Linked DNA regions of Homo sapiens: region 1 is linked to region 2. The links are contacts of gene promoters, found by promoter capture Hi-C in blood cells and fetal thymus (Javierre and others, 2016). All regions are on one chromosome and are shown on one strand. The core of a region is centred on a gene start or on the middle of the fragment in contact, and the rest is flanking DNA. Distances in the headings are between cores, read along the strand shown.

Evidence for each region. Contacts are between HindIII fragments. The CHiCAGO score rates a contact against its expected background, and 5 or more counts as called.
Region 1: a fragment that was not itself captured here is called in contact with the fragment with the promoter of SERINC4 in region 2 in 1 of 17 cell types (megakaryocytes); the score reaches 6.6 in megakaryocytes.

What each region holds. Positions count from the first base shown.
Region 1 is chr15:43,430,365-43,434,109 of GRCh38, reverse strand. It overlaps TP53BP1 (tumor protein p53 binding protein 1), which reads left to right. Exons shown (of 28, transcript NM_001141980.3): 17 at 1,433-1,916. Among named protein-coding and RNA genes, the nearest start is that of TP53BP1, 61 kb to the left of the region's middle. The HindIII fragment of the contact is 4,515 bases long and covers 1-3,745 here.
Region 2 is chr15:43,798,970-43,802,953 of GRCh38, reverse strand. It overlaps SERINC4 (serine incorporator 4), which reads left to right and starts at 2,734. Exons shown (of 12, transcript NM_001258031.2): 1 at 2,734-3,069; 2 at 3,468-3,644; 3 at 3,817-3,984. The coding sequence starts at 2,968. HYPK (huntingtin interacting protein K) reads right to left here and starts at 2,355. Exons shown (of 4, transcript NM_016400.4): 1 at 2,170-2,355; 2 at 1,767-1,822; 3 at 1,385-1,436; 4 at 1-1,243. The coding sequence starts at 2,331. The coding sequence ends at 1,148. It overlaps SERF2-C15ORF63 (SERF2-C15orf63 readthrough), which reads right to left. Exons shown (of 6, transcript NR_037673.1): 3 at 2,170-2,459; 4 at 1,767-1,822; 5 at 1,385-1,436; 6 at 365-1,243. RefSeq lists enhancers at 2,079-2,328, 2,236-2,936, 2,937-3,637. The HindIII fragment of the contact is 2,702 bases long and covers 2,462-3,984 here.

The sequences.
Region 1 (3,745 bases), core at 660-3,159, 370 kb after region 2:
GACACACACTATAACAACCAAATTTATACTAAGCTCTTCTTGGCTAGAACTCTATTTGAAATCCCTCTTTGAGCTCCTGTTCTGGTAGGCTGAGCTAAACAATATAGAAACCTCAGAAACTTCTTTTTTCCTTTTCCTTCAAGATCTAGAGCAGAGCAATCCCTGAAGAGCACTTCCTGCTTCCTTTACCCTGTCTACGTAGGAAAGCTGAGATCCTAAGGATAAGAGCTTCTGTCAAATAGGAGACAGCCCTAACTCTTTTTCTGGCCACATACTTAAATCAACATATGACATAGTTTCTAGGCCCCTTATCGTCCTTCATGTTACCTTCTGAGTTTATCTACAGTTTATGCCTTGTAAACTGTCATGCCGAGAACTGAAACAGATATTCCAGATGTGGTCTTAGCATGGTCAGTTCAGAATGGATTCCTTTTATTTTTATTCTGGCTATTGTGCGTGTAATGGAGCCTAAAACTGCATTATGTTGATTTAATCTGAGTAGATTTTGCAATTAATTGATTCAGAGAACATTCAGTCTTCTGTTCAAAGTACATGTATTAAGCATCTATTTTATATTAAGCTGTGAGTTAGGTGTTTTAAATATAAAGATAGATAAGACATGAATGTCAAATTTCTGTTGACTTGGAGTTAGCCTGGACGTTTTTATTCTGGAGAATTGTTAGGGATATTTAAGAAAGCTCCTAGTCACTTCGGAAATCGTGGTATGTGGTTTGTAGGAGACATTCAGCAAATGCTTGTGGAATAAAGGAACGAATCACTGATACCCAAATGGGATGACTTATGAAAAAAAATGGGCTGTATCTTAAGAACTGTCTTTGAGAAACCAATTCATTCTGAAATGTTTAGTTGTAGATATATCAGTATAGCTGACAAAACTAGAATCTACCTACAGCTTTATCCTTTGTAAGTCAGATTTTCTTTCCTAAAAATATTGCTCAGGTGGGGATAAACAGTATCTAGAATGCTAGGAATCAGTTAAGGAATGTTAGAACCATCATAAGGCCAGATAAGACATCTTGACTTAATTGATCTTTTTTCAAAATAGATCCCTAAGTTGCCCTTCATTGTCTATGACTTCAGTAATGGGTTTACATCTTTTTGTTTACTTCATTTTCCTGCATCAAGTTTCAGAGTTCATAGCTAGTGATGGGAAGAAATTTTATGACTCTTTTATCATCATGGTGGAATTGTTCTATCTACCATTATTTTTTTTACAGGAGTGAAATTATAATGAGAGGCCTCCCAAGGTGATAATGCTTGACTACCTGACTTTCTCCCTTCCTTACATTTCTCAAATTGTCAAAATATGGCTCCCCCCTTGCCACTACACACACACATGCACACGCACACACACACGTTCACACATACACTTGCTTAATTGACATGGCTTCTTTATATGTTGCATTTTCAGGGGGAACTTGCTCCACTTTCCAAGTTCTCAAGGAGAAGAGGAGAAAGAAAAATTGGAGGGTGACCATACAATCAGGCAGAGTCAACAGCCTATGAAGCCCATTAGTCCTGTCAAGGACCCTGTTTCTCCTGCTTCCCAGAAGATGGTCATACAAGGGCCATCCAGTCCTCAAGGAGAGGCAATGGTGACAGATGTGCTAGAAGACCAGAAAGAAGGACGGAGTACTAATAAGGAAAATCCTAGTAAGGCCTTGATTGAAAGGCCCAGCCAAAATAACATAGGAATCCAAACCATGGAGTGTTCCTTGAGGGTCCCAGAAACTGTTTCAGCAGCAACCCAGACTATAAAGAATGTGTGTGAGCAGGGGACCAGTACAGTGGACCAGAACTTTGGAAAGCAAGATGCCACAGTTCAGACTGAGAGGGGGAGTGGTGAGAAACCAGTCAGTGCTCCTGGGGATGATACAGAGTCGCTCCATAGCCAGGTGAGAGAACATACTAGGGTGCATCAGAGGCCTTGTTTTTAACTTTCAGGATTCTCAGAGAATTTAAGTTGTGGCATGTCTGCCTAATGACAATTCTTGACAGTTTTGTACAGAACAGTGGTTAAAAGACAAAAACAACTTTTCTAAGATACAGATATGGTAGTGAAATTGTGGGTAGCTATAGCCATTAGATAGTCTTTTAGGGAAAATGTAGTATTGCTACAGTTTTTTAGGTAGGTCTTTACTGGAGAAGAAAGCCAGAGATTCTGCCTGGGTCCTGTAATACTCTTCTACATTCACTCTTTTCCTTCTCCATACTTTTTATCTTGCCTTCTAACCATCAGATCTAATTTTCTCTCCCTTAAGTCTATTTCATCATGGTTCTCAGGAATTCAGAGAGTAGAAGGTAAGGGGGAAAGAAGCAGCACGAAGAATAGTGTATTTCAGTATATGAAACAGAAAGAATGGTAACAGGAATAGAGAGAGAGATGGGGAAAAGTCCCCAGGTGACCAAGAACTGCAGAAGAGAGGCTAGACTAGAAGCTAATGTGAAGAAAAGGATTGGGGCTGATGAAAACGAGGCTGGAGGAGTATCAGGTTCCAGGGAATAGAGTAGGGAAGTGTCGGTACTAGTAAAAATTAAGTAGGTGGCTGTGCCTGGTGGCACATGCCTGAAATCCCAGCGCTTTTGGAGGCTCAGGTGGGAGGATTACTTGAGCCCAGGAGTTTGAGACTAGACTGGGCAACATAGTGAGACCTTGTCTCTTAAAAAAAAAATTGAGTAGATGAAAAGAAGTCGTAGAAATGTATGTGTTAACAAATACGTAGAAGTTCACAACATTTCATTGAGTGGCAGAGTGGGATCTATGGCAGAGAAAATTTGGAAGTTACTAGTAAACAGTAGTCTCTGCTTATCAGTGGTTTCTTTTTCTTGGTGGTTTTAGTTGCCCATGGTCAGCTGCAGTCCAGAAATACTAAATGGAAAATTCTAGAAATACTAAGGTTTAAATACTGTGCTGTTCTGAGTAATGTGATAAAGTGCTGTCCCTCTTAGTCCTGGCTAGGATATGAATCCTCCCTTTTTCTAGCATATCCATATGCTATATATGCTCCCTGCCTGTTAATGACTTAGTAGCTGTCTTGGTTATCAGATCAACTCTCATGGTATTGCATTGCTTGCATTCAAGTAACCCTTGTTTTACTCTCACCCCAAAGTTTGAGAGTAGTGATGCCGGCAATCTGAATATGCCAGAGAAGTAAGTCATAAAGTGCTTCCTCTAAGTGAAAAGGTAAAAGGTCTTAATAAGGAAAGAAAAAAAATCATATGCTGAAGTTACTAAAATCTGTGGTAAGAACAAATCTATCCATGAAATTGTGAACAGTATATTGTTATAGTTTATCTTATTATTAGTTATTAATCTTTCTGTGCCTGATTTATAAACATTATAGGTCTGTATGTATAGGAAGAAACATAGTGTATAGGGTTTGATATTATCTGCAGTTTCAGGCATCCACTGGGGGTCTTGGCACATATCTCCCTCAGATAAAGGAGATATTGTAGTGGTCAAATTGCTTTTTCAGTTGCTGTGGTAGATTATCTTCATTTGGGATCTACTTAGGAAATCTTCATTATTGATATACCTCTCATTTTGATTGTCCAAGTTGTTTGTTTTGTAAAAATAAAATACAGTTCTTATTTATTGAACACCTGTGGCACATATGGGATATGAGCATTGTGTTCAAGACAATGATATATTTTATGTTATGCAGATTTTACCATAGTAAAAATATATAGATGGTGTATAGAATAACAGAAATTGAAATTGGTG
Region 2 (3,984 bases), core at 1,485-3,984:
GCTTCCCAAGGTGTTGGGATTACAGGCATGAGCCACCATGCCTGGCCCCTAAATTCTTTTTTGTTGTTTTGTTTTTGAGACAGTCTCGCTCTGTCACCCAGGCTGGAGTACAGTGGCACAATCTCAGCTCACTGCAACTTCCGCCTCCCTGGTTCAAGCAATTCTTCTGCTTCAGCCTCCTGAGTAGCTGGGACTACAGGCATGCACCACCACGCCTGGCTAATTTTATTTTTTTTGTATTTTTAGTAGAGACAGGGTTTCACCATGTTGGCCAGGCTTGTCTTCAACTCCTGACCTCATGATCCGACTGCCTCAGCCTCCCAAAGTGCTGGGATTACAGGTGTGAGCCACTGTGCCCGGGCTTTTTTTTTTTTTTTTTTTTTTGAGATGGAGTTTCACTCTTTCCCCCAGGCTGGAGTACAGTAGTACAGTAGTGTGATCTCAGCTCACTGCAACCTCTGCTTTCCAATTTCAAGCGATTCCTGCCTCAGCCTCCAGAATAGCTGGGATTATAGGCGCCCACCACCATGCCCAGCTAATTTTTCTATTTTCAGTGGAGACGGGGTTTCACATGTTGGCCAGGCTGGTCTTGAATTCCTGACCTCGTGATCTACCTGCCTCGACCTCCCAAAGTGCTGGGATTAGAGGTGTGAGCCACAGCACCCAGCCAAATTATTTTTTTTTAATCACTCAAAATCAAGCATGTTGTAGGTACCAAAATTCTAACTCAAGGTGGCCTATGAACTGGGTTCATAACCTACATCTATCTATATATATAGTGGCTCCTAGGCAGGTAGCTGGCCTTTTAGATATTCATAAGCTGTCTTGGAGACACATGCCATTTGAGTACAGTAACTCTGCTGAGACTCCAGATGTACCTTGAATACTGTTGAGAGCTAGTCAGATGAATGAGACTGGCCTGCCACCTAGCATCTGCACATGAGGTATTCTTCTACACTGATTTTTCATACAGGTGTGCTAGATTTTAATGGGTCACTTAAATTCAGTTAGTCTCCAACATATAAATTCTCCACAACATAGGATATAGTATACACTCTACTTGACCCAAGATGATAAAACTGAAAAAGACAAAAAAAAATTTTATTGCCATAAATTAATCCAGTAGGTATATTTGAGAAAGCACGCATCAGTTGGTTAGGGCAATAAGCGCCTCTACCACGTTGCCCATGTGTTCCCGCAAACTGCGTTCTGCTGCTGCTCGAGATATCTCCATCTCAGTCATCTGCAGAAAAAAATCATGTTACATAGGTTCCCAGGCATTAATGTGCCACCAAATATACTGACTCCGCTTGTTTCAGGAAACAACCCAAATTAAGCAGAATAGCCTCCCCTCCGCATACACTAGTTAGGCACTACCACTCACTATTAGCTCCAGATCTTCCTTCTTGATAGTGACTTTTGCCAGTTCTTTCTCCCTGCAAAAATATTTAAATATATTAGTCCTCATTCTCAACCAACACCATAAACTCCCAGGAAGGGTCATTCCCAGAAGTGCCCTGTAAATAAATCTTGATAAACCCTTGATTGAAAATAAAAACTCCCACTAATACTCCTTTCCCCTGGAGTCTTGGCAGCAGGTGTTGCCAGGAGGCCTTCTGCTAACAAGAGTAAAGTTGTGGCGCCTAGATCTGCAGGAATTGGTGATAAATTTGAAGAACGGTATAAAGGCTTAATAATGGTTTTTATTTTTGTCTGGGGACCGGGGAGGGAAGAACTGTTAAAGTTGGCTGCCCCTGAAGACTTACCGCTCCTGTTTGGCTTTCTGCTCCCGGGACCTTCTGTCTCCAATCACAGACATGGCCTATGGGAAAGGCAGGTCTAGTTACTGCACCGCTACCCACAATTCCCAATAATCTAAAAGGCCAACAAAACAAGCGGTTCATGCATGGATTCACGATGACAAGTGTTACCAGGTAGCAAGGACTATGTTTAATTCCATTCTATGCACCTGAGGTCCCCTTAAGCCCACTATCAAGCTCCTTTAGGCAAGCGGCGCGCTCCGGTGACCGCTGTTTCCCTCGGCTCTACCCTATTGCCTCCTCCTGCCAACGGGATCAGAACCCCGTCTTGGAGCGCTGGCTTCCAGCTACAGCCTCAGAGCCCCCCTCTGCTCTCAGCCCGCCCCGACATGCTCTTGGCCAACCTTACCGTCTCCAGATTGGAACTCTGGATCTCCTTCTCCTCTGCATAGTCGGTGACCCGCTCCAAGTCCGCCGCACCGCTGTCATGTTTCCGTGGCTTCTCCGGAGGCCGCTCTGGTCCACTGGTCTCAGTCTCCAACTCCAGCTCCACATCCCCCTCGGTCGCCATATCTATTTCACCACGCCGCCGCATAAGCCCCACCTCACGCCGACTTCCGGCAACTGACACAGCTTCCGCCCGGGGAGGAGGCGGGGCTGGCCCTGGGCCACACCTTCTTTCTGCTCCAGTTCTAGAAGCTTCAGGGAGGAAGGCGGTTCGTCTCTCAGACTTCCTTTCGGGTTTGTACAGTGTTTTGTGCGAGGCCTTCTCTCAGACCTAACCCGACACCGCTCCAGCCCACCCCACCGATATCCTTAACCACCTCATAAACTAGGAATAGTCCCCTCAACACATAAACACGCACCCACCCACCTCAGGGAACTCCGTTCAACCTGAATGACGTCTAATCCTAAACCAATAAAGAATGCTAATCCACAGGGGGCCAGATAGACAAACTGCCCCCTAATCTGGAGAGAACAGCCTGAGTGGCCGCAGTGTTGAGGCCCTAAGGACAAAGCTCCTTCACAGGGCATTTGCATTTACCGCAACCTGGAGGTCAGTGTTCTCTTCCGGACGTCTCCATTCTGCCCGGGACCGGGTGCTCAGCCCCAACACAGTGGCAGTCCAATGGGCTGAGGACAGAAGCAACTGCTGCTCTCATCTGCCTTCCATCTGGTGGACCTAAGCCTAATCCCTGGGACAAGGATGGTGGGTGCCAAGGCCGGCCCCAGCCCCGGCACCTCCCTGGGCCTGGCACAGCAGCACAGCGGAGGCAGCAGTGTCCTAGTGAAAAGTCCCTTCTGTCAGGTGAGAGGGTGCGAAGGGGAGAGTGGCCGAAGCTGGGGAGGAAGACGTGCAGAAGCCAATAAAAACGACAGGCCTCTTTTCTCCTCTAATGTCGTTCTGGTTCGTTGCCCCAGGTATAATCTGTAAATCTCTCCCGCCATGTTTCCAGCCCCAGGTGTTTAGGTCGAGAGAAAGGTCAGATATCTCAAGCCTGCTTATAATGAAAGCCCTACTAAGTTGTCAGTGGGCGGCAATCCCAAATGGCTGGAATCAGCTTGAAACAGAACCTGAGTAAAAGGAAGAAAGGGGAAGGGGAAATTTTGGAATTCAACCTCCTGGGTTAACCTCACACATACATTAACGTATGCCTTTCCTCAGCAAGTCTCCACCTCGCTGCCTTGCATCTGCTCTACTCCCAGGTGTGCTGCTGTGGGCCTGCTCCTTGTGCCAGCTGCTGCCACTCTAGGTGGCCCTCTCTCACCGCATCCACTTGCAGCCGCCTGTTCTACATCCTCCTCCATGTGGGGGCCTCAGCAATCTGCTGCCTCCTGCTGTCAAGGACAGTAGTGGAAAGGGTGTGGGGCAAGACACACAGGGTAAGTGAGAGGGGGTCGGGTTGTCAGGTGGGAAGAGATAAAAGGAAAAACCCTAAGATAGAAAAGGTTTCGGTTGGGGGCAGGAGACAAATGAGTGGTCATACCCGTGACAAGTAGGTACCTTTCCATGCATTATGACTTGTCCTGCCATTTCTCTCACACACACTCCCAGATCCAGATGCCCTCGGGGTTGTGTGCCCACCTGTTTGGCCTCTCTGACTGTCCAGTGCTCAGTGGCTCTGGGGCTGTGTACCGAGTATGTGCAGGAACCGCCACCTTCCACCTGCTGCAGGCTGTGTTGCTGGTCCACCTCCACTCCCCCACCAGCCCGCGGGCACAG